Linked DNA regions of Homo sapiens: regions 2, 3 and 4 are each linked to region 1. The links are contacts of gene promoters, found by promoter capture Hi-C in blood cells and fetal thymus (Javierre and others, 2016). All regions are on one chromosome and are shown on one strand. Each heading gives the region's core, a stretch centred on a gene start or on the middle of the fragment in contact. The rest is flanking DNA. Distances are from core to core; before and after follow the strand shown.

The links. The method cuts DNA at HindIII sites, captures the fragments that hold promoters and counts their contacts. A CHiCAGO score of 5 or more calls a contact.
Region 2: a fragment that was not itself captured here is called in contact with the fragment with the promoter of ALDH5A1 in region 1 in 2 of 17 cell types (non-activated CD4 T cells and total B cells); the score reaches 6.8 in non-activated CD4 T cells.
Region 3: a contact is called between a fragment that was not itself captured here and the fragment with the promoter of ALDH5A1 in region 1, in 1 of 17 cell types (neutrophils). The highest score is 6.9, in neutrophils.
Region 4: a contact is called between a fragment that was not itself captured here and the fragment with the promoter of ALDH5A1 in region 1, in 1 of 17 cell types (fetal thymus). The highest score is 8.4, in fetal thymus.

The regions. Positions count from the first base shown.
Region 1 is chr6:24,490,099-24,496,615 of GRCh38, reverse strand. It overlaps ALDH5A1 (aldehyde dehydrogenase 5 family member A1), which reads right to left and starts at 1,647. Exons shown (of 10, transcript NM_001080.3): 1 at 1,266-1,647. The coding sequence starts at 1,619. It also overlaps a transcript of GPLD1 not described here. RefSeq lists a silencer at 1,252-1,641. The HindIII fragment of the contact is 3,166 bases long and covers 1-2,638 here.
Region 2 is chr6:25,143,156-25,149,672 of GRCh38, reverse strand. No RefSeq gene overlaps it. Among named protein-coding and RNA genes, the nearest start is that of CARMIL1, 130 kb to the left of the region's middle. The HindIII fragment of the contact is 1,781 bases long and covers 2,732-4,512 here.
Region 3 is chr6:25,104,221-25,110,737 of GRCh38, reverse strand. It overlaps the pseudogene CMAHP. Among named protein-coding and RNA genes, the nearest start is that of RIPOR2, 170 kb to the right of the region's middle. The HindIII fragment of the contact is 3,413 bases long and covers 1,857-5,269 here.
Region 4 is chr6:25,035,936-25,042,452 of GRCh38, reverse strand. It overlaps LOC102724765 (a long non-coding RNA gene), which reads left to right and starts at 6,312. Exons shown (of 2, transcript NR_187803.1): 1 at 6,312-6,471. It also overlaps a transcript of RIPOR2 not described here. The HindIII fragment of the contact is 950 bases long and covers 3,308-4,257 here.

The sequences.
Region 1 (6,517 bases), core at 398-2,897:
GATACAAAGACAAAAGCTGAGCTCTCTGCAAGCCAATGAGAGGCCTTAGAAGAAACCAACTCTGACAACACCTCGATCTGGGATTTCTACCCTCCAGAGCGGTAAAATGAGAAATGTCTGTTGTTCAGGCCACCCAGTCTGTGGTACTTTGCTATGGCAGCCCTAGCAGAGGAATATGCCTGGTCACACTGTTGATGCTGCATCTTGCCCCTTCCCTCTGGCCCGGATCCTCTCCTGCTTCTACCTTTTTTCCATATTGCACTCAGCATCTCTCACATACTTATTTGCTTAGATATTATGTTTGTTGTTTAGAGTTCTGATCTCTCTTCTGCTCCCCTTCCACCCCATGTGAGCTCCATAAGGGCAGAATCCTTCTTTCGTTTAACTGAGGTATCCCAAGCACCTCCAACAGTGCAGGGCATACAGCAGGTGCTCAGTAAACAGCTGATGGATGAATGAGTGCTAAGACTCTCTTGTACTCGTAGGGATCGCTGGATGCATTCCTTCAGAGGGAGAGCTTTGAAGGACACGGTAAAAAATTTCACTGCGTTGACTCCAGGTTTAATAATATAATATTAGAAGGAAGAAACTACTTTCTTAGTTTTCTTCTTACTCTATTCTTCCCATTTAATGGCCCTCCACCCCTTACTCCCAATTCTCCAGTGTTCTCTATGCAATGGCCAATAGCAGCATTTATCCATTTAGGGTGAAAACCTGGAGAACGCTCCTGGATTTCTCTCTTCCCCTGCACAAAACCCAAATCTTTCTACAGTTCTCTCCGTTTCCGATCCCATGATTCTGGCCAGGGGCCCTCACTACCAGCCTTCTCAAGGGCCGCTGAAGCAGCCTCCTGCGTGGGCTCCCTGCAGCTGCGGAGATATTTCAGCTACTCTGAAGGGCCACACGTGCTCTCACTTCCCTGACACCCCTCCCCTTTCTCCCCGCCCCTCCACGGTTAGGCTTGTTGACCATAACAAGCAGCTCGCTTGTATTAGGCGCTCACGTTCTGCCTCCCCTACTGGGCAGTGCATAACTTGATGAGGCTTGAGGGCAGGGGTCGTGTCCCTAGTGCCCGGCTCAAAGTGGAAGCTCCAAACTTATTTGTCGGTCGTCTCCCTTGTTGCTCTGACTTTCCACTTTGTATACCCTGGGGAACTGAGCACAGGAGGGAGGCGACGCGGCTGGTGTCACTTTGGGGTAAAGCCCCCTCTGCTCCCCGCCGTGTCCCCGGCCAGCTCTGGCCCCCTGCATCCGGGCTCTCTCACCTTGGCGGAGACCTCCCTCCAGCGGCAGAAAGCCTCGTAGGCAGCGCGCACGGCGGCGCGGGCCTCTCGCACCCCGCAGTCGGCTACCATGCCCAGAGCGGCGCCGCTGGCCGGGTCTTGCACGGGGAAGGTGGCGGCGGCCGGGAGCCAGCGGCCGCCCACGAAGCTGTCGGTGCGCAGCAGCGCCGCAGAGAGGCCCGCCAGGCGCCCAGCGTAGCAGCGGAGCTGGGCCGGGCCGGGCGCAGGCCCGGAGGCAGGGACCAGGCCGCCGGCGCGGGGGCGGAGGCGGCAGCCTGGAAACGTCGACCCGAGGCGCCGGGCCCCACAGCTCCGCAGCCAAATGCAGGTCGCCATGGCCCGGGCAACGACGGCGACAGGAAACAGGCAAGCGGGCGCGCGCGCACGGGAACGCAGGGGTCGCGGGGAAGCAAGAGGAGCGAGGAGGCGCCGGGGACGCGCGGGGAAAGCGTGGGAGCTGGCGGAAGGTTGCAGAGCCACAGAGCAGCGCCCTCTCTCCGCGTCTTTCTCGCTGCACCGCCGCGCCGCCCTCTGCACCTTGCCCTAAGCGCCGCGCGGCTTCTCTCCTGGCGCGACCTTCTCCCGGGGGAGGGTTGGGTTCGGGGATGGAGAAGGCTCGCCAGTAGATGCACCTGCGGACTGCTGTCACCTTTTCACTTTTCGGGTGCTCATTTGTCACTAACTGCTCCTGAGCCCCCAATCGCTGCTAGAGACCCACTCTCTCCCCTTAGCATCCCCCAAATTCGGCATCCCCGGAATTTGTGCGCGGTCCATAGATGCGCTGGTGCCTGCCCTAAATGCCAAGGCCGTGATCACGCTTCTTCAGTTGTAGCTCCTGAGCACGTAGTATTGATTGGGAGCGATCGTTCTCTGAGGGGTCGAAGTGTGACCCCGCGTTCTGCTGCCTGGCTGCTTTTTTGGGTGTGTGTCTAGGCATTCTCCTAGGGTTGCTCCCGATAAATAACAGCGCTTTGGAAATAAACAGACTAGGATCCAAACTCAAGTCTGTTGCCGACAAGCTGTGTGACCGACAGGTTAACCTTAGTCCAGTCACTTATAAAATAGAACCATATCTACCCCATTTTGTTGTGAGATAACGTAAAATGCTCATTACAGTTGCCACATTAAATTCAATATAGCGTTCAAAGTCATACTAGCTACCCTAGTCAAGCCACTAGTAAGATTAAAGTTGGGTCACCAACTAGTAAATGGAAGCATTTGTCAAAATTGAATCAACCAAGGTATAAGGATTGAGCATACTATCCAACCAAGGTATTTGAGCACCTTTAAACAGCATTCTTCATCCGTTAAAAAATTAGACTTGGGCTTAAGACTCTGAAAGCAGCAGGGAAGCTTAAAACCTAATGAGGATAAAAATAAAAATAGCAGGCGTATGCTGGGAATTTGTGGGTGCAAATGAAGCCCAGCCCTATGCATTGATTTTAGGTTACATATCTCCCTTTCTCAACTCCTACAGCGTTGAGAGTATCTTGCTAGCTTTCACCTTTTTCTAGGACGTTGAATTTTTTTCTAGGACATTTGCAAAATGCCGAGGCAGTAACTTTAAATTTTGACTTTGTCTTTTGCTGAGTCAGATCCATTGAGTTTTGAGCCAGTCACATATGGCAGAAGTGATAACAGTAGAGTTTAATCAATTTCACACTATTTTGCTCTGTATTTTATTGCAGGAACTGGGGAGAACCAGGGAGTCCTAATAGGGATGTGGGCCAGTAGGTATCACAGGTGGGGCTGGGGAGCTGGCGTGTTTACATCTCCTGCCTGCGGAGGGAGTTTTTGTTTTTGTTTTGTTTTGTTTTTGGTGGTGGTTTTTGTTTTTTGTTTGTTTTGTTCTTGTGAGACCGACAGACTCATTCTGTCACCCAGGGTGGAGTGCAGTGGTGCGATTTCAGCTCCCTGCAACTTCCGCCTCCCGGGTTCAAGCGATTCTCCTGCCTCAGCCTCCCGAGTAGATGGGGCTACAGGTGTGTGCCACCAAGCCCAGCTAATTTTTGTATTTTTAGTAGAGACAGGTTTTCACCGTGTTGGCCAGGCTGGTCTTGAATGCCTGACCTCAAGTTATCCGCCCTCCTTGGCCTCCCAAAGTGCTGGGATTACAGGGCTCATTTCTACTGGCCTGGGGAAATCATTCAATTGAGGCCTCAATCAACTGAGGCCCAGAAAAGCCAAGTTAATTGTGGCTGCCTCTCTTGTTCAAAAATTACCCTAGCCCACTTACCTTTTTAAGGTTCTATTTCAAACGGTACCCACTCCCTTTCCCAGATGACTTATCCATTACGCACAGTAGGTACGATGCCAAGGGCCCATAAAACTTTTAGGAGCACTCACAAATGTTTAATTTATTCTAAAATCTGAAGAAAAGAAGTTTTAGGTGGCATATTAATATGTTAATCTTACACCAATGCAGATGTAAAATGTGATTTCTATTTATTGTTTACTTATTTTTGTGACAGGAAGTACTTCACAAAGGCAAAAGCGCCTGGAGCTTAGAAAGTTCACAATGTGGCCCTCCCCTTTTCCCTCAGTTTTGTGCCCCTCTTCAAGCCCCCATTCAGAGTGTAAACAATTTCCTCCTGGCTCCTGTCTTACTTCCAGCCTGTCCTGATGCCCCCTAGCGCCTGGCTGGGTGTCTGTCCTTACCAGGGCCTACAAGGACAAGACCATCAGGTGAGAGGGACCTCTTCCCTCCTTTCTCCTTTGGCTGCCCTTGTCCTGGGAACCTCCACTCCCCAGTTCCCACCCTTATTCATCCTCTCCCCCATTTTCTTTTTCTTTTTTTTCTTTCACTTTTTTTTTTTTTTTTTTTTTTGAGTCAGGGTCTTACTCTGTCGCCCAGGCTGGAGTGCAATGGCACGATCTCAGCTCATTGCAACGTCTGCCTCCTGGGTTCAAGTGATTCTCCTGCCTCAGCCTCCAGAGTAGCTGGGAGTACAGGTGCGCGCCACCATGCCTGGCTAATTTTTGTATTGTTTAGTAGAGATGGGGTTTCACCATGTTGGCCAGGCTGGTCTTGAACTCCTGACCTCAGGTGATCTGCCCACCTCGGCCTCCCAAAGTGCTGGGATTACAGGCATGAGACACTGTGCCCAGCCTCTTCTCCCCCATTTTCTAGACTGGCCCACATAAAGCTTGAGACCCTCTGGCTTTCAAACCTGTATTCTCCCTACTCACTCCTTAATGTAACTGTATGTTTACTTTTCACCTTGGGTCTCTATTTCCAGAAGAGTTCTAAATGGTAGAATCATGCTGTCTTGTTTATAACAAAGCCACCTATATTAGGAAAGGGGGGTGTGGGGCAGAAAGAAAAATATTTCCATATGCTTATTATTTGTCAGATAGTAATATTGTGAGCTACGTTTTAACTTTCTTTAAAGTCATATCTTTGATGTTTTTATTGTTACCAAAGTAATACAAACTTCATAAAACTGCAAGCAATATTGTCATATAAAGACCATATTCATAACTATCACACTAAGCAAATAATTTCCTCTTATTTTATTACATTTATACGTTTATGTCATTCTGAATCTCAAATACAAAAAAATGCATAATGAGAAATTGAGACATTTGGGATTAGTATTGTTTGGTAACTGAACCCATTCCTTTTTTTTTTTTGAGGTGGGGTCTTGCCCAGGCTGGAGTGCAGTGGTGTGATCTCAGCTCACTGCAACCTTCACTTCCCAGGTACAGGCGATGTTCCCGCCTCAGCCTCCTGAGTAGCTTGGACCATAAGTGCATGCCACCATGCCCGGCTAATTTTTGTTTTTGTTTTTTTCTTGGTAGAGACGGGATTTTGCCATGTTGCACAGGCTGGTTTTGAACTCCTGGCCTCAAGCCATCTGCCCGCCTTGGCCTCCTAAAGTGCTGGGATTATAGGCGTGAGCCACCACACCTGTTCTGAACCCATTTCTTTGGTGCTTTTTGGATGGGTTTGTTGTATTATATATGGTTAGATATCTTTTCTAGCAGTATTTTTTTCCCCTGTAACCATTGATTGACTGCTCTTGGATGTTCTGAGAGACAATATCCAAAGTCCCAATTAATAATTGTGACTCCCTCACGCACAGTCTGTAGAAGGCCCAGAGTGACAGGGAGGCAAACTCAAAGGCCTCTGGTGGCCAGAAGGGGTGTGGAAACCTGCACACATTGCATGGATGGTGGGGACTGGAGGAGCAGGACATGCTCTATCAGGGGGCAGCTGGCTCTTTGGCTGCAGCTGGTTGTCGTGTCACATGGGAGCGTCAGTTCATGATGCCAGTTCTTTTGTTTTTAAGAGAGCCAGAAATCTAGATTTCTACGTGAATTTTCTCATTTAGAAAAAGTTCATAAACTTGATTTAAGTTTATAAAACATCCTGTTAGCCAAACAAAACACGTAGGCATATGGCCTCTGGACTAATCAGGAGTAGCTGGGCCTACTGCCCCTCAGGTCTGGGGGTAGCTGCGGGATTTCTTTCCTTGGGGCTGTGCACATGGCTGTGTTAAGCTTACAGGGGAAACTGTTGGGGCGACAACTGTTGTCAAATCATTCCACTTTCTTTTTTTCTTTTCTTTTTTTTTTTTTGAGACAGGGTCTTGCTCTGTCACCCAGGCTAGAGTGCAGTGGTGCAATCTCGGCTCACCGCAATCTCCACCTCCTGGGTTCAAGAGATCCTCCCACCTCAGCCTCCCCAGTAGCTGGGACTACAGTCACGTGCCACCACACCTGGCTAATTTTTGTATTTTTAGTAGAGACGGGGTCTTCACTATGTTGATCACGCTGGTCTCAAACTCCTGACCTCAGGTGATCCACCAGCCTCAGCCTCCCAGAGTGCTGGGATTACAGGTGTGGGCCGCCACGCCCAGCCAAATCATCCCACTTTCTATTCATCCTTTCATTTGGCAAACCTGAAGTGAATACTATTTCCTCCCACTCTTTTAGGAGCCCATCTCTTGCTTTTAATGTAAAATATGCATAATTTGTGTTTTAAGATTACCATCAGTTTCATGAAGAGCTTAATTTTTCCCATGGATGAAGTGTAAGTGGGTACCTGATAATATATCGTGAGCTTAACATTTTCCAAACCCTGTTTCTTGGCCCTAAATCTGCCCCCTTCCTTCCACCTCCCAAGTGGAATTGACATCTTTGCTTCAGCTGCAGGAATCTGACCTTGCAACAGGCTCTGGATAAGCCCTATTAGAACAGCCAGAGGTAGAGAGACCAGGAGTGGCTGCTCT
Region 2 (6,517 bases), core at 2,373-4,872, 650 kb before region 1:
TTTGCATGTGGCTATTCAGTTGGCCCAGCACCATTTGTTGAATACAGGATTATTCTTCACCCCATTGAATGGTCTTGACACTTTCTTGAAAATCAATTGACCACACACACGAGCTTATTTCTGGACTCTCAATTCTATGTTTACCTTCATGCCAGTACTACACTATCTTGATTAGTGTAATATTGTTGTAAGTTTTGAAATGGAGAAGTATGAGTTCTCCAACTTTGTTCAAGATTATTTTAATCAGAGTCCTTTGTGTGTTCTTACGAATTTTCGGATCAGCTTGTGAGTTTCTGGGATTTAGAAAGGAATTGCATTAACTCTGTAGAAAAATTTGGGGAGTACTGCCATCTAACCTTCTGATCTATGAACATGGAGTATCTTCCTCTTTATTTAGATGTTTAATTTTAAAAATATTCTGTAGTTTGCAGTGTACAAGTTTTGTACTTCTTTTGTTATACTTATTCCAAAGTGTTTATTGTTCTTAATTACATTCTGAATGAATTTTTTTCTTAATCTCTTTTTTGAGTTGTTCATTGCTAACATGTAGAAATGCAATTGATTTTTGTATATTCATCTTGTATCTGACATTTTGCCTAACTTGTCTATTAGCTCTGGAAATTTTTTAGTAAATGTTTTAGGATTTTATATATACAAGATCATGTTGTCTGCAAATACCTTTACTCTTCCTTTCCAACTTGATGGCTTTATTTTGCCTAATTTTCCTGTCTAGAACCTTCAGTAAAATGTTGAATGGAAGTGGTGAGAGCAGATATCCTTATCTTCTTCTTGATTTTAGGGAAAAAGTATCCAGTCTTTTGCTATTGAGTATAATGTTAGTTTTGGGTTTTTCATGGGTTCCCTTAATTAGATTGAGAAAATTACTTTCTACTATTAGTTTGTAAAGTGTGTCGTTGTGAGGGGGTGGGAGTTAGTCATGAAAGGGTATTTTTTTTCAAAATTTTTTTCTGCATTATAATTTCTTTTGAGACTATTATGTGGTTTTTACCTTTTATTCTCTTAATGTGGTATATTACATAATTGATTTTCATGTATTAAATCAATCCTGCATTCCTAGGATAAATCCCAATTGATCTGGACAAGTTTATGGACTATCAGTACTAATTTTTCTCTAAATGTTTGATAGAATTCACCAGTGAAGCCTCTGGGTTCTATGTTTTTCTTTGAAAATACTTTAAATTACTGATTCGATCTCTTTTCCTGTCATAGGTTTGTTCATGTTTTCTATTCCTTTATGAGTCCATTTTGGCAATTTGTGTTGCTCTAGGAATTTGCCCACATTACCTAAATTATCTAATTTGTTGGCATATATTTATTCATAGTATTTACTTATAGTCCTTTTAATATTTGTAGGATTAATGGTAATATCTCCTCTTTCATTCCGGATTTTTTTGTAATCTGTGCTTTATCTCTTTATCTTGTTCAATCTACCTGAAGGTTTGCCAATTTTGCTGATCTTTTCAAAGAACCATTTTTTGATTTTACTGATTTTCTATTTTTTTTGTTTTTTCTACTTCTTTTATTTTTACCCTGTTATTATTTTCTTATTCTACTTGTTTTGGGTTTTGTTTGCTTTTCCTTTTCTAGATCTGAAGTTGAAGTCTTAAGATTATTAAGATCGTTCTTCTTTTCTATTATAGCCATTTAAAGCTACAAATTTGCCCCATGTCTTGCTTTAATTGCATCCTACATATGTGCTCCTTTCTGATTAAAACTCTCTCCTTAAAGATATATAGTACCCTGACTCTTGTAATATTTTTCTCATTTTCTGAAACAATACACTTTAGTTTTCTTGTTAGGGAACTTTATTTAAATGGAGTCACGTTGCCTCTGTGTGTGTGTGTTTTGTTCTTTTTATCCAATATTATTTCTGGGCATTGGTGCACGTTGTTACAAGTAGTCTTAATTGGTTTATTTGTCTTTTTGTGTTCCACAGAATGCTACTTTACTGTTATAGCGTATAATTTACATAACATATAAATACATAATTTATCATTTCATTGTTGATGAACATTTGCATTGTTTCCAATGTAATATACTCAAATGTAATATGAATAATGCTGTGATGTACATTCTTGTACATGTATCTTGAAGAACATATGCACATATTTCTCCAGTGTTGAGACTTAGCTAAGAGTAGGATTGTTAGGTGACAGTATATGTGTATTCTCTGTTTTAGTGTAGAATGCCACACTATTTTTCAATGAGATTGAACCTCACTACATTGTCATTAGTAACATATGAGAGTTTCCATACTCCTATTATCAACATTTAGTACTTGCAGTTGTTTTAATTTTAGTTGTTCTGGTAAGTATAGTGGTACTTCATTGTGGTTTTTATTTTCACTTCCCCATTGCTAGTGAGGCTGAGCTCTGTTTATACAGTTAGTCACAATTTGGATATTCTATTTTATGAAGTACCTATTCAAACCTTTTTGCCCATTTTTCTTATAGATTGTCTTTTTCTTATTGATTTATAGACATTCTTCTATATTCTGCATAGAAATCCTTTGTCATATTTATGTTGCAAATTTTCATTATGTGTCTTACCTTTTTACTCTTTTATTGTGTTTTGGGGTGTATATGTTCTTTTGGTGTAATCTAAAATTGCAATAATTTTCCTTTTGGGTAGAGCTTTTTGTGTTTTGTTGAAAAAAATCCACCGTGTCCCAAGATTATAAAAAATTTCTCCTAAATACCTTCCAAAAGCTTGATTGTTTATCTTTTAAATGTAAGTCTTTTAACTTGTCTGAAATTGATTTTTATCTATGGAATAAGGAAAGAGTCCAATCTATTTTTCCAATATGGGATCCCAGTTACCCCAGCAAGTTTAGTGGAAACATTTATCCTTTCCCTAGTGATCTACAGTGTCACTTATCAAGTGTTGGTGTATATGTGGACTTGTTTCCAGGCCTCTATCCTGTTCCCTTGATTATTTTATCTACCACTGAGCCAACACTATATGATCTTAATTATTATAGCTTACAATAAGTCTTGATATTTGCTAGGACAAATCCTCTCTCATCTCCCACCTTGTTCTTCTTGAAGAATGTTTTTTCTCTTTTTGGCCCTTGGCATATCTTAATAAATTTTAGAGTAAGTTTTTAAGCTGTAAAAAAAAAAAAAAAATTCTGGGGGTTTTATTGAGACTATAGTAAATCTACAGATAAATTTGGAGTAAATTGATTATCTTCATAATATTGAGCTTCCTATCTATGAACATAATATAACTCTTCGTTTATAGATACACTTAATATCTCTCAATAGAGTTTTATAATTTTCTCCAAAGAGATCATCTTTTGTTAAATGTATTTCTTGATATTTCATTTTTTATGCTATCTTTTAATTTTTATTTATTTATTTATTTTTTGAGATGGAGTTTCTCTCTTGTTGCCCAGGCTGGAGTGCAATGGCACGATCTCGGCTCACTGCAATCTCTGCCTCCCGGGTTCAAGCAATTCTCCTGCCTCAGCCTCCTGAGCAGCTGGGATTACAGGCATGTGCCACTACACCCGGCTAATCTTGTATTTTTTGTAGAGACGGGGTTTCACCATGTTGGCCAGGCTGGTCTCGAACTCCTGACCTCAGGTGATCCACCTCAGCCTTTTCTGCTATCTTAAATGATATATTTTTAAATTCAATTTTTGTATTTTTTATTGCTGATGTGAGAATAAATTGATTTCTTAAACTATTGATTATATATCTAACAGCTGTACTAAACTCTCAGAGTCTTATAATTTATATGTGGGTTCTTCTGAATGTTTATGTATACAGTCAGTTCTAAGTATCTTCAAAAATGATTTTTTTTCTTTCCACTCCTTATGTGTTTGACTTTTTTTTTTCTTGCCTTAATGTGCTGAGTAGCTTATTCAGGTCTCTTTACTTTTACCTAATGTCTTTTTCTGTTTCAGGGTTACATCTAAGATACCACATCACATTAGCTAAGGAGCTATCATGTCTCCTTAGGCTTCTCTTGGCTGTAATATTTACTTAGATTTTTCTTGTTTTGGATGACCTTGAGTTTCAAGGAGTACAGACCATGTATTTTATAGGTTACCTCTCTACTGGAATTTATCTGATTTTTTTTCTCATGGTTAGACTGGGATTATGGGTTTGCAGGAGGAAGACCACATCATATTAAAGTTACATTCTAACATAATTTATCACCGTTGATATTGACGGATTGTCACATTTCCTTACTGTTAAAGTTACTCTTTTTTTCATCATTTCCATACTGTACTCTTTGAAAGGAAGTCTCTATGAAAGGAAGTCTCTATGTGCAGCCCACATTTAAGAATTGATTATTTCAGATTTTCTACATAGGCAATCATGTTATCTGTGAACAAAAACAGTTTTACTTCTTTCTTCCCAATTTGTATACCACTTATTTATTTATTTGCCCTATTTTATTGTCTAGAACTTTCAATGCAATGTAGAAAAGCAGTGGTGAGAGACGACATCCTTGCCTTGTCCTTATCTTAGTAAGAAAGCTTCTACTTTCTCATTTTTTGTAGATGTTTTAATTAATTAATTAATTAATTTATTTATTTATTTAAGATACAGGGTCTTGCTCTGTCTCCCAGGCTGGAGTCCAGTGGTGTGATCATAGGTCACCCCAGCTTTGAACTGGGGGCTCAAGTGATACTTACATATTGGCCTACCAAGTAGCTAGGGCTATAGATGCATACTGCCATGCCTGGCTAATTTTTTTTTTTTTTTTTTGAGATGGAGTCTCACTCTGTCACCCAGGCTGAAGTGCAGTGCCATGAGCTCAGCTCACTGCAACCTCCGCCTCCTGGGTTCAAGCAGTTCTCCTATTTCAGCCTCCCAAGTAGCTGGGATTACAGGCGTAGGCCACCATGCCTGGCTAATTGTTGTATTTTAGTAGAGACGGGGTTTCACCATGTTGGCCAGGCTGGTCTTGAACTCCTGACCTCAGGCGATCCACCTGCCTCAGCCTCCCAAAGTGCTGGGATTACAGGCATAAGCCACCGCACCTGGCGCTTTTTTATTTTTATTTTTTAGCAATGGGGTTTTGCTATGTTGACCAGGCTGGTCTTAACCTCCTGGCCTCAAGTAATCCTTCTGTGTTGACCCCCAAAAACACTTAGATTAATGGGTATGGGCTGCTGTGCCCAGCTGTAAATGTTCTCTATCAAGCTGAAGAAGTTTCACTGTATTTCTAGTGTGCTGAGAGTTTTTATCATGAATGAGTGTTGGATTTTATCAAATGCATGTGATCATGTGACTTTTCTTCTTTAGCCTATTGATTTGATACATTATATTAGTGACTTTTGAATGTTGAACCAGCCTTACATGCCTGGAATAAATCCCATTTGGTCATAGCATATAATTCTTTTTATCCATTGCTATATCTGATAATATTTTGTTGAGTATTTTTGCATCTATGTTCATGAAAGAAATTAGCCTGTAGTTTTTTTTTCTTGTTATAACTTTGTCTGATTTTGGTATTAGGGTTATGGGCTCATAGAATGAGTCAGGAAATATTCCCTCTGTTTCTGTCTTCTGGAAGAGACTTTTGAAAATTGGTATAAATTCTTCTTTAAAATTATAGTAGAATTCACCAGTACACCCTTCTGGGCCTGATGCTTTCTGTTTTAGAAGGTTCTTAGTTACCGATTCAATTTATTTAATATATATAGTACTACTCAGATAGTCTATTTCTTTTTGTACAAGTTTTGGCAGATTGTGTCTTTGAATGGATTGGTCTGTTTCACCTAGGTTATCAAATTTGTGAGCGTAGAGTTTTTCATAGCATTCCTTTATTATCTTTTTAATGTCCATAAGTTCCATAGTGTTGTCCCTTCTTTCATTTCTGATATTGTATTTTTTGTTTTTGTAGACACAGGGTCTGTTTTTTTTTTTTCCTTTGAGAGAGGGACTCGCTCTGTCACCCAGGCTAGAGTGCAGTGGCACGATCTCAGCTCACTGCAACCTCTGCTTTCTGGGCTCAAGTGATTCTCCAGTCTCAGCCTCCCAAGCAGCTGGGACTACAAGTACAAGCCACCAATGCCTGGCTAATTGTTTTGCATTTTTTGTAGAGATGGGGTTTCATTGTATTGCCCAGGCTGGTCTTGAACTCCTGAGCTCAAAGCAATCCGCCCACCTCAGCCTCCCAAAGTGCTGGCATTACAGATGTGAGCCACCACACCTGCCTTAGACACAGGGTCTCACTTTGTTGCCCAGACTGGTCTTGAACTCCTGGGCTCAAGTGATGCTTCTGCCTTGGCCTCCCAAAGTGCTGGGATTACAGGCATAAGCCACTGTGCCCAGCCTGATATTAATATTTTTGCATCCTCCCTCTCTCTCTCTTTTAAAATATTAGTTAGCCTAGCTGTGGGCTTATCACTTTTTTGATCTTTTCGAAGAACCAGCATTTGGTTTTGTTGCATTTCTCTATTAGTTTTCTGTTTTCAATTCCATTGATTTCTGCTCTAATTTTCATTTCTTTTTTTCTGCTTCCTTTGAATTTAATT
Region 3 (6,517 bases), core at 2,314-4,813, 610 kb before region 1:
TGGGATTACTACAAATGTTGGATGTAGTTCCTCAACACTAAATTTTACTGTCTTGCCTAGCTGGTAATTCTGTCCCTCCTTAAGGATGAATAATATAGTCTGTTAAAGTGTGGCTTTAATATACAAAATATATTATTTATCCTTAAAAAGGGACAGAATCTTTGAAGGTTGAAAAACCAACCCCCAAAATGGTCCGAGACATGGGCTTTTGTCCTGTACTATGTCCCAGTCCTCTCTCTTACTGAGAGCTACTGCTTGAAGCATGCAAAGAAATGAGGATCTCCGTGATCTTCATTTCTTTCCTCTACAGCATGACTTTTTCTCGTCTGTGCCTACTGTTAGAACTACCCCTCCTTCAAGCAGCATCACTGTGGAAAATGGAACTTACCTACCTGGTTGATGTCCACACCATGAGCATTTGATATGTTCTAACAACAAAGATGAATCCCCTCAGAATCTCCCGTCACTTTCACAGTCATCCTTGAACAGAAACTTTTCTCTGGACTCTGGTGAGAGTCCAGTTTTTCAATTCCTCACTTCTCTGTCAATATGTTGGTATAAGGAACAAACTGTCTGTCATACTAGATGACACTATTTTTTTCTCTTTTCAACCTTTCCATCTGTCTTATCCTAGTTACCCCACACTGAAAAAGCTTGCTGGGAGAAGACCAGATATTCCCATTTATGTTGGAAACACAGAAAGGCCTGTATTTTGGAATCTGAATCAGAGCGGTGTCCAGTTGACTAATATCAATGTCGTGCCATTTGGAATATGGCAGCAGGTCAGAAATCTGCTTTCTTTCCATGCTTTCCAGTTATGCTTTCTGTGATGAATGTTAGGTGAGATAGTCACCGTAAGATTAAGGAAAAAATGGGTCAATGTGGTATGTCCCTGATACTGCATAAACACAACCTCTATTTGTGATTCAAATGTTAGGCAGACTGTCCTGGGCAAAGATGATTTTCTTTCTATTAACCCATACTATTATAGTACAACTCTACAGAACAGGTAATAAATCTAGTTCTGAATAAGGAAATTTCTTCAAATGTGAGGTTCAATTGACCAGTCTTTCCAGAACAGGTGATTACCTTCTCAAATACTGAATTAAAAACCAAACTGAAATTCACAGTTGTTGGTTTTGTTGTTAAATTCCAGGTGGACAAAAATCTTCGATTCATGATCTTGATGGACGGTGTTCATCCTGAGATGGACACTTGCATTATTGTGGAGTACAAAGGTATGTTTTTATCCCCATTGATAACGAAAAATGGAAAACATTCTTAATAGGAAGGATGGTAATATCTATATGAAATTTCATCACATGTTCATCTTTTAGCTCCATTTTGAAAGAATATAGCGTGTTATATCCTTGTTCTAGAAATATGGAGCTATCTTTCAAATAATTTTTCCAGAAAACAAATTAGAAATAATGTCATCTAGATAGTGACAGGAGCAAAGATTTCTTTCATAAGGCAATAGATATTTTACATTCCACCTATAGTGATTTCTTCAAAACTACATTTATTAAATAAATGTCTTTTATTACTTTCACCTAGAAATATCATGTAATATAATCATGCACTGCTTTTCATATGAAAAGATGGCCTTACTGCCCCAACAATCATTTGAATATGAGCTTTGCATGTAATTTGCAAAAGGTACAGGGAAGTATGTTAATCCACTTTTTTCTGATCCTTTGGGCTCAACACCTGGAAAAAGTTGACAGAAGAAAGCAGTCTATCTATGAGCTAGAGTGGAATTAAGATAAAAGTCTTCATGAGACACCTAGTATCCACCAAGTCAAATGGGATGAATTTAGTCGCTTGAAAATTCAGAAAATATACTATTGAAAGCTTTAAGTTTTAAAATCTTACTGTTTGTTTTTCCTTTGATATAATCAATTCTTCTATAATCAAATAAGTTCAATTATACAGACTGTATACAGAAGTCCTTGTCTTGGAATTCAAACTATGGGTGTTCAAGATTTCACCTTGAATATCTATACCTCTTTGTTTCTCCACAGGTCATAAAATACTCAATATAGTAGACTGCACCAGACCCAATGGGGGAAGGCTGCCTATGAAGGTTGCTCTAATGATGAGTGATTTTGCTGGAGGAGCATCAGGCTTTCCAATGACTTTCAGTGGTGGAAAATTTACGGGTAATATTTTGTATGAAAGTGATACCAAGTATCACGCATGGCACATTGCTAAATGCTGTAAGAGTAAATACAAATGTAATTGAGACATGATCCCTCCCCACAAGAAGCATGCAATCTTATTGGGAAACCAGATTTGTAAGTTGCAGATTACCAACTAAGGTTTCTAGCTCAAAACATGATGGAGCATGAAGGAAATGTTGAGATCTGAGAGCACCTCAGGAGGAGCCAAGAAAGAGAATCATCTGGATTCACCATGTAGACCGTAGAGCAGAACAGGAAAGGCCTGAAGTGGGTCATCCAGGCTTAGGTGCTCTTGGAATATGGTTCCTAATGGGGTGTGTGCAGCCTCAATGTAGACACATCCCCTTGGCACTGTGGATGCTCATATCAGGGAGCAGTGTGCCCAGAAGAGAGTCCTCTAGTTGGGGACCTCTAGTGCACCCAGAGGAGGGTCCTCTGGTTGGGGGTCTTAGGCAGGAGCCCTTCTGCTCTGGGTCCAAGAGTGGGGTTGGGGTTGACATTGGGGAAGTGTGTATCCTCAACACTAGTATTGTAAGTGCTCAATACATGTCCACTTAATAAATTAATGTATCTGATAAGTGATCCCTGTCTAACAGTGTGGCAGAAAATGCCCTGCTTTGCAATATGAAGATAACCTTTGTCCCGTTCTTTGCTTTCTTCTCTAAGTCTATATTCATTGCCTCCCGGAGTGTGTAACCACATGAGAAATAGAGGGAAGGTTCTGTCCTTAAGAAGTTAAAAGTGTGACTGGGAAGGTAAAACATACTTATTAAGGGTTAACTAGCATCATGCCATTCTGTGTGATGGTGAGTTTGTGTGTGTGTGCACATGTGCGTGAGTACACACATATACATTTAAAAAGGTCTTGAATATACCAAAATATTATGTCTAGGTGATGGGTAGCTTGTATATTTTTTCTGTATCCTTGTCTGTGTTTGTCAAATTTTATAGAAACAATAACAGTAACAGCTCTCTGACCTTCTACCCTGTATGTTCTGCGTCCTGTCTAATTCCTCAAGTTCCTTCACTGCCTGTCACTCTGATGCTTGCTATATATCAGCCCATCCTGCTTTTTGTTTCTTAGACCCAAAGTGTCAAGTGCACACCTGCCCTGGGTCTTTGTGTTTGCTGTTTCCATTTCCTGGAGTGCAGCTGGCCCTGATTTGCATGTGACCAGCAACTTTTCATCTATGTCTCAACTCAAATGTCACCTCTTCACTGACCATCCTGTCTAATGATTCCCTCCATCTCATCCCACTCACCCCAGCCACTCTCTGTTCCATTGCCCTGTTTTATTTTCTTCACGGTGCATCATTCTTTGCAATGACTTTATTTACTTGTTCATTATTTGCTTCTCTCACTAGAATGAACACTCCATGAGAGCAGGGACCTGCTTTGCCTTGTTCACCACTTTATTCCCAGTGGCTAGAACCACGTCTGACACAGAGTAGGTGCACAATAAATATTGGTTACGTGAATGAATAAGCAAATGAACGGCACTGTGAGAGGGGCATCATGACTCCATTTACAGAGAAGATACAGACATGGAGAAGTTAGGTAGTTTGCCCAAGGCTGCCCAACCAGTAAGTGGTGGGTCAGGATTTTCAACCTAACTGACTCCAACGTCATGCTCTTAATCACTGTGTATTTGTCAGATTATGTTGAACACACCTGTTATAATCTACAAATATAATGAAGCCATTTTCATGTTAGTAAAGAGTTAATTTCAAGAATTACAATGCCCTTAAAATGTGCATGCACACCAACTACGATTATGCATCCTACCCTGTGTATTCAGCTAGGGTCCGAATGAATTGCCATATACAAGGAGAAAGCTCAGTGCCTTTGGCTGGCTTGGTAACATTTTCCTAGTAACCAATTGAAATTTCCAAGATAAAAACTCCGGGGAAATCCTCCACTAATGACATGGAGCCTTGTTCTATTTCTGCCTTAGTTACCTATCAATTTTATCTCCTGAAAGAGTTCCAATCTGCTAGAACATGTGTTTTTCTGTGATTTTTCCAGCAGAGGAGACTCTAATCTAAATCCTGTCATTTCAGAGGAATGGAAAGCCCAATTCATTAAAACAGAAAGGAAGAAGCTCCTGAACTACAAGGCTCGGCTGGTGAAGAACCTGCAACCCCGAATTTATTGTCCCTTTGCTGGGTATTTTGTGGAATCTCACCCATCAGACAAGTATGGCTAGACACTTTGTACATTTTTACATACAACTTAACGTATGGTGGAATGAGCGACTTTGCTGTGAAAGCAGTGTGACATGAGAAGGAAAGTGATTAGTAGGTGTCTGGAACTTTTTAACAAGCTGCTGGAGAACCCAGAGCATGAATAAAAGTTACACTTGGCAGCCAGGAACTCTTTCAGGAGATAAAATAACAGATAGATATTCTCCGAAAGGATCCCAGGAAAGAGGATGGCAACTGCCATTTATTATGTGAAGTGAACTGGGGACTTTTAACTAAGCCATCTAAGTTAATCTCCCAATAGCACTATGCGTAGGAAGGGGGTATTGTTCCTTTTTTGCAGATAAGGAATCTGAAACTCAGAAAGGTCAAGGGACGTGCCCAAAGTCACCCTGTTGGAAACATGAGTTGAGAATGGAACCCTGGTATGCTTAGTTCTAAAGCTCTTTTCTCTATACCATACTGCATTCCAGAATAGAATTATGTCTTTCTTCTCATGTTTTAGGTATCTAATGTGATTTTTCTTGCAGCAATATAACTTCTGCAAATACTATGAATCATCACCAATGTATGAAATTGTTGAAAGAAATAAAAGACCATGAATTTGATCTTGTCCCCTTTGCCAATGCTCAGTTAAGTCAAGAAAACCTACATGATTAATTTCAAGATTTTCTTGAAACAAAAGAATTGCTTGCCAAATATGCAGGAATCGAAGATAAAATCTGGCAGGGTAGTTTGTTTTTTAATCTGATATCACAGTGCCTATGGAAAAACTCATTTTGAATCTCATCCTAAGTCTGACTCCAGCGTCATGCTCTTAATCACTGTGTATTGTCAGATTATGTTGAACACACCTTGTATTTGAACACAATGAAAGGAAAAGCTTAATTGTGACTTAGTTACACGGGAAGAAATATTTTATTAGGTTCCTAGAGCTGTTGTAACAAAGGAACATAAACTGGGTCATGTAACAAAAATTTGTTACAACAGCCCTAGAAACCTATTACAATTTTTGTTAACAAACGTTTGTTAAGTTCTAGGGGTCAGAAGTTTGAAATAAGGTGTGGGCTGAGCCATGGTCCGTTTAAAGCCGCTGGGGAAGGATTGGTTCCCGGCCCTCTCCCAGCCTCTGGTTGCCTCAGACACTCCTTGGCTTGTAGATGACCATCTTTACTCTGTCTCTTCACATGGCATTTTCCCTGTGTGCCTATCTGTGTCCACATTTTCCTTTTTTTATAAAGACATCAGTCAGATTGTTTTAGAGCCCACCTACATGACCTCATTTTCACTTGATTACCTCCATAAGGACCCTGTCTCCAAATAAGGTCACATTCTGAGGTACTAGGACTTAGGACTTTAACATTTCATTTTTGAGGGGAAAACAACCCATCACACGTATTTATATTAAAATGGAAACTTTTCATGGCACCAATTAATAACAGTTTTATACATTTTTAAAAAACCAATATGCAGATTTTATTTTTAATTGACAGCATTAAAATTGACTGCAAAGTTGAGTAAAATTTGAAGAATGTTTCATTAGTATTGATAATTTATAGTTGAGTTTTGATTTATGTAATACCCCTTTGAATTCAATGGTAATATTAATGAGTTGACACAAAAGTTAGTGAATTTACTAAACTTGGACAGGCATAGTTTTGAAACTGTTATGCTTTTGCTTCAAAGCCAAATCAGTTCTTCTAAAAAAAAATATGAACCAGTTGTGTCAATGTGGATTTGAGTGCTACATGAAAGTACATTTTTAGTACTTGCTTCTTTTTATTGGGAAACTTTTTGGGTATGTGTGGAACAACTTGAGCATGAGAAGCTACTTTTTGAACTATTCATTTTATAAGATCTATAGATCAAGTCTTTCTGATGAAAATGTAGGATCTAAATTGAGATGTACTCTGTTTAAAATATACATTGGATTCCAAAGACTTGATAATGCAGAAAAGAATGCACAATATCTCAATAATTTTTAAAAATTGATTTCATATTAACATATTTGGATTGAGTTAAGTAAAATCTATTAATTTTACCTGTTACTGTGTACTTTTTTAATGTTGCTACTAGAAAATTTAAAATTACACATGCTTGAATTGTATTTCTGTTGAACAGAGTTTAATAATT
Region 4 (6,517 bases), core at 2,533-5,032, 540 kb before region 1:
CCGGAGACCCAGCAGTAAATAAATCATACGCCCTAAAAGGTAAGGGGTGTTGCTCTGATTCAGCTCTAGCAGCAAAGCTCTGCTCTTCATTTCTGCCTACAGAGAGGGATTCCCATTTCAGCCCATTCCTGCGTGCAGTCAGACACACCTGCCCTCCCCCTGCCATTGCACGGCTCCTCTGACGCGAGGGCAGACACAGGAGCCCGGTGATCGTCTCTGCTTGAATAAATTACCGCCCCATCATCTTCATGCATAAAACATGGCACAGGAGGCTAGGGCAGCCCAGCACAGCAGCTGCCTTCGGGCCAGTCGGAAGTTAAGGGAAGGAAAGGCAAGGCAAGTTACAAGATAAAAGAAGTCAACGGAAGCCTCAAATACTCTTTTTTTTTTTTTTAAGAAAAGAACAAAAAGGGGGGGGTTAAGTTTTCTTTTTCATTTTTATACGTCTGGACTTAACTTCCAGGATAGCTGCAAGACCCTTTTGTTCCTTTGCCATGAGCAGGTTTTAGGCCGCTCTGTTGGGACCATGGTGTTACCTTCGCGATTACACTGGATCAGAAACAGGCCATGGAGGGACAGGATCCGGAGGCGCCAGCTCAACCGTGAGTGTCCCGTCTGGTGTTACCTACTCTCTGCCTTTGTTTTCCACACTTTCCCGCAACACACTCATTTCTTGCCCTCTGCAAATCTTCTCCAATCTTTCCCCCTTCCTCCTCTCTTCCACTTTCCTGTGCTCCGTTTTCCAATGGACTTTGGTATTTTTTTACCGACTCTCTCTCTTCCTATTTCCTTCCCAGCCCTATCCTAATTAGAGGTAACTAGATACATTTTGTTTCAAGTGGTGAGCAAGACAGGGCCACAGGGCCTCTTTTCTTTATTTCTCCAACCAGATGGAAAATACAAATAAATATTTACATCGGTCAAGGAGTCATGTGAATTGGAATTTTTGTTTATTACAGTGGGGAAAAAAATGGAACATCTGAATCAAACAGGTTATCAGCAGTGTCGCTAGATGAGGTGAAATTCAAGGATCAGTGAGTCATATTTCCTTTAAAGGGCCCAATTGTATGCTTCTTAAATTATCAAACTCACAACTGAGTAGACAGGAACTCTAACCAAAAGGGAGTTTTTAGTGCTGGAGTAATCTGAGAATGAAAAAGCATTTCCTATGTATGCCAAGACCATTTCTCATGAACAAGTAACAAATTTGTGTGTGTCTGTTTTTAGAGATGTTTATTTATCTCAGATGTCAGCAAATTCAAATGGGTGGAGGGCTGGGCTGCTAAGAAGAATGAGTGAAAGGGGTCTGTTTTCACAGGGGTAAGGAATAGTTCACTTTCTTCCTGTCTCTGTTGTGAGAAAAATGATAGTGAAAGCATGATGATAAATGACAACTGACATTTGGCCTCAATATGAGGTAGCAATAGGCAGTGGTAGAGGGTGCAGCAAATGGGGAAATATGTGTCCCATCATAGTGGGGCACCCACCATTCAATGCCATCAGATTGTTTCCATGAGGAATGGGGTAGAGGTTGGTGGATTTTCCAATTTTTCAAAAAAAGCAGGCAGATGCGGTAGCTCATGCCTGTAATCCCAGCACTTTGGGAGGCCAAGGCGGGAGGATCATGACGTCAAGAGATCGAGACCACCCTGGCCAACATGGTGAAACCCTGTCTCTACTAAAAATACAAAAATTAGCCGGGCGTGGTGGTGGACGCCTGTAATCCCAGCTACTCAGGAGGCTGAGGCATGAGAATCACTTGAACCCAGGAGGTGGAGGTTGCGGTGAGCTGAGATCGTGCCATTGCACTCTAGCCTGGGCAACAACAGCGAAACTCTGTCTCGAAAAAAAAAAAAAAAAGCAAGAAACACTAATTTCTATGTGAAAGCTCTCAAGTTTAAATGTTGGCAGTTTATTCTTTGAATTTTAAATATGTAATACCAATGTTCTGAGGCAACGTGTGACAACTGTGGACCACCAGTAGCCAAGCCCTGGTTTATGTGCTAGGTGTTGTTCTCATTAGAAGTCCATCACACAGGCCGGGCGCGGTGGCTCACGCCTGTAATTCCAACACTTTGGGAGGCCGAGTTGGGCAGATCACCTGAGGTGAGGAGTTGAAGAGCAGCCTGGCCAACATGGTAAAACCCCATCTCTACTAAAAATACAAAAATTAGCCAGGCGTGGTGGTGGGCACCTGTAATCCCAACTACTCAAGAGGCTGAGACTGGAGAATCGCTTGAACCCAAGAGGCGGAGATTGCAGTGAGCGGAGATTGTGCCATTGTACTCCAGCCTGGGCGATGAGCGAAACTCCATCTAAAAAAAAAAAAAAAGTAGAAGTCTATCACACAGTGTTCTTTATGCCTAGATGCCTAGTTATATGTTGGCAACTCTTCCTTATGTGTTAAAAGCCCCTGGTATAGACAATTAAATTAAGATGAATGAGTGGCTTAGGAACATGTATCCAAAATAGTCACAGTCTACTAGTTTCGGAGGCAAGCTGAGCTGGTTGGATTCCAAATGACAATTCAAAGACAAGCAAACAATTTGCATCAAGCAAAATACTTCTTTTTCTTTGATATAATTGAAGAAGCCATCAGTTTTCTCTGGGCCTTTACCTTCTTGATCATGTTTCTTTTACTTGCGCGTACCTTAAATTTAAATTCCAGTTTTTATGAAACTTCATTCTATATCTGTAGGAAATTAGTTGTGATCCTAAGTTTTAATCCAATACCTCCGTTATGGAATCCGTCACTGAGAAAAGCTGGATTATGGATCTGCATGGTTTCACTAGTATGGATGGGAAGTCGGCCTATACTCTTAAAATAAGAGTTATCAGAAAAGCCTGCTTTACTACAGAAATTTCACTTAAATTTTGAGACTAACATCTGAATACTGTGCTGATTTCTGCATGGTTTTAATATGAAATGATATATTAATAGATGTTGAATGTAAGCTCAACATTAAGCAGGCTGGTCCTGACCTCTTTGGCATAATGCCTAAGGAGGGAATTCTGATATTCTTCCAGGATGGTCAAGAGCCCTGCTGCATGAGAGTCAGTGTGAGTTAGAAACAGGAACAGGATCAAGTGACATTTTTGGAGGGTTGCATTTTCCAACTCACAAAAGACCTGTGCATGTTTGCAGGCAGCGAATCAGAGAAAGTGGAAAGGGAGAAAGAGTGAAGACACCTGCGAGGGAAGGACGCTTATCACTGCAAATGTCAGCCTGCAAGGGTGGCCCTCAACAATATTTTGCAGCTGCTAAAATCTGCTTTGATAACGTTTCCTGTCTTCTTTCTCTGAAGCTTTTCTCATAGGTCAGCGTTTCCTCCAACTTGGGGACTCAAGTTATATAATCCTTTGGGGTTATTTTGTCATTAAGAAAAATAAATTAGTAAACCCCTTTTCTTTAAATACACAGAGGGACCTTGAATGGCGATAGGAGGGACATGTGCCACCACTGTCCATTTCCATGCCCATGCAGACATTGGTAATCAACCACAGCTCTCTCCTTTTTCCCCACGGGGGCCAGGCCCTGGCTTGGAATCCTTTCTAATATAGTGCCTTAAGCTGCCATGTCTAATCAATTAGAATTGCCTCACTGGTTGAAATTTATGTTTGTTTTCTAGTGCTTTGTAACAAATTACCACAAGTTTATTGCCTTAAAACAACATACATTTTTTATCTCACAGCTTCCATGGGCATGAATTAGCTGGATTCTCTGCTCAGGGTCTCCCAAGGCTGCAATGAAGGTGTTCTCTGGGGCTGCAATCTCATCTAAGGCTCAGGGTCTCCTTCCAAGCTCAATGGTTGTGGGCAGAATTTAGTTCCTTGCAGTTGTAGGCCTGAGGCCTTCAGCAACTAAAGGCCACCCATTGTTCTCTGCCACATGACCCTCTCCATAACATGGTAGTTTGCTTCCTCAAGGCCAACAAGGGTCTTTTGCTGCTTATAGACTCTTCTTTAAAGGGCTCACCTGATTAGGTCAGGCCCACCCAGGATAATCTCTCTTTTGATTAGTTAAAAATTGACTGATCAAGGACTTTAATTACATTTGAAAAATCCCTCATTTTTGCCATATAACATAATCTAATCACAGAAGTAAAATCTCATCATATTTATACCCAAGGTTCAAGAACTATACAGAACCTGTATGCCAAGGGGCAAGAATCGTGGGGCCATCTTCAAATTCTGCTTACTACAAAACCTAATTGTCATCTTTGCAATAGAACTTCGATTTTGAGCTACTGGAAAGCTTTAGGTTTTTTGTTTGCTCATTTGTTTGTTTTTGTTTTACTTTTTATTATGAGAATTTTCAAACATTCAGTAAAGTTGAGAAAATAGTATAATGAATCTTATATATCTATCACCTAAATTTAACAATTATTAACATTTTGCCATATTTGCTTCATCTAATTTCCTGTTGAAACATTTAAAAATAAATCAGACATTATGACATTTTAGTAAGAGCGTCTCTAAAAAATAAGTACATTTTTCTACATAACTGCGTAATAAAATTAACAATGATCCCCACATATTATTTAATACCCGGACCATATTCAAATCTCCCCAGGTGAGAACAAATCCTTAATAAGCTCTGCATGCCTGTAACCCTTAGTAAAATACCTGGTACCTCATCTACTCAATAACCGTTTGGGTTCCATCAAAATTAAACTCATAGTAAAGCAATGGATCCCAAAGTTCATCTTCCCTAAGCCTTCCTCACTTCTTCCTTTCACCCCCAGAATCTGTAATGAAATATTTATTTTCTTTTCTAGTCCATAGCAGTGTAGTAAAAAAATAATAATAATAATCAAACCAAGGTATGAGAACGGTAATATGTTACCCTTCTTAGGGATATTTGAATTTTAAAAGAGGCCAAAGGTCACTACAAAGACACACATGTGTGATACTGAGCAGACATTCGGGAGAAGGACCTATCTGGTGTCCTGTAAACCCTGTCAAGCTGCTTACCTGTGACCTGCCCAGGTAAAGAGGAGTATAGACACAGCAACAGCCCGTGGGTGCCTGGGCCTTCTACATGATGACAGCAGGGTCAGGGCAGGGCACGGGAATGAGGGGTGGGCACAGATAACTGAATGCCCCGAGAGCCTTTCTTTCCTTTAGTCTGCCACAGTTGGGGTGGGCGATTAAAGGAAAGAAACCCTGAAAAGTATATAAGCTTTGACAACCAGGAGATTTGGCTTCAAATCCTGCTTCTACAACTTCTTAGCTGTTGGCCTGTGGGCAATTTATTCCACCTCCCTGAATGCCCACTTCCTCAACCTTAAAATGCTTATTACAGTAACACCCACCTCCCATTGTTATTGGAGGGGATTAAAAGACATAAAATATGTCAAGTGCCTAGCACAGTTCCTGGCAATGTAGCTATTGGGAGCTGAGGGCCTAAAAATGGTAATAGTGGCATTTGAGGCAGTATGAAGGGCTTACCATTGCCACCTCCACATTTTTTCCCAAAATAATGGGAGACATGTCATACTGGAGAAGGCATCCCCATCTTCCTCAGCCAGGCACCCTACCCTCACATTCAGCTGGCTTACACCACACCACACAGGAGGCAACACAGATACACTAGGGAAAAACTGATCTTGGCCCCTAGGGGTGTGACTCCTGTTCTTCTGGGAAAATGGAGTGTTTGCCCCCACAGAGGATCTCCAGGCTATTTTCAGTACAAGTAAATGCAACCAGATGACAGAGCCCACTTGGAACTTGTTTCGCCTCTTTAAAAAGTTGAACTCTAGCCTAGCGTGGTGGCTTACACCTGTAATTCCAATGCTTTGGGAGGCTGAGGTGGGAGGATCACTCGAGGCCAGGAATTAGAGACCAGCCTGGCAACATAGCAAGATCCTGTCTCTATAAACATTTTTTTTTAAGTTAGTGGGCATGGTGGTGTGTGCCTGTAAACCCAGCTACTCAGGAGGCTGAGGCAGGAGGATTGATTGAACTTAGGAACTGGAGGTTACACTGAGCTATGATCATGCCACTGCACTCCAGCCTAGGTGACAGCGCAAATGCTGTCTCAAAAAACAAAACAAAACAAAACAAAAACCCGTTGAACTCTGTTAGGTAGAGCTTTGATGGAGGCAGCCACTGGTTAGCACTTTTTGTGGACTCCAATCAGAGGAATGGAAATGAGTTTTCTCTGTCCCACTGAAAAGACAACAGTGACAAAGCTGATATGCACTTGAGATTAGGGAATCTGCTGTCTCAGAGATACCACTGGCGACTTCCTCCCAGTGTCAATGTGACTTAATTGTCTTGTTCTGCTTCGCCGGCCATTCTCCTGACTCAGTGTGATGGCATTCTTAATTGTGACTGGGCAAGGGGACCTGGTCAAGCAGCAGTCTGAATCCCACAGACGATGCCCTGGACTGTGGTTGGGGCTGTGGGACTTCGAAGGAGGGCTCTCCTGTCTGCCACCATCCTGGGTTGACAATTCTACACAAGGAGGTAAGAACCCAGCTGGCTATTCCTCACTGCACGTGCAGCTCTGGAA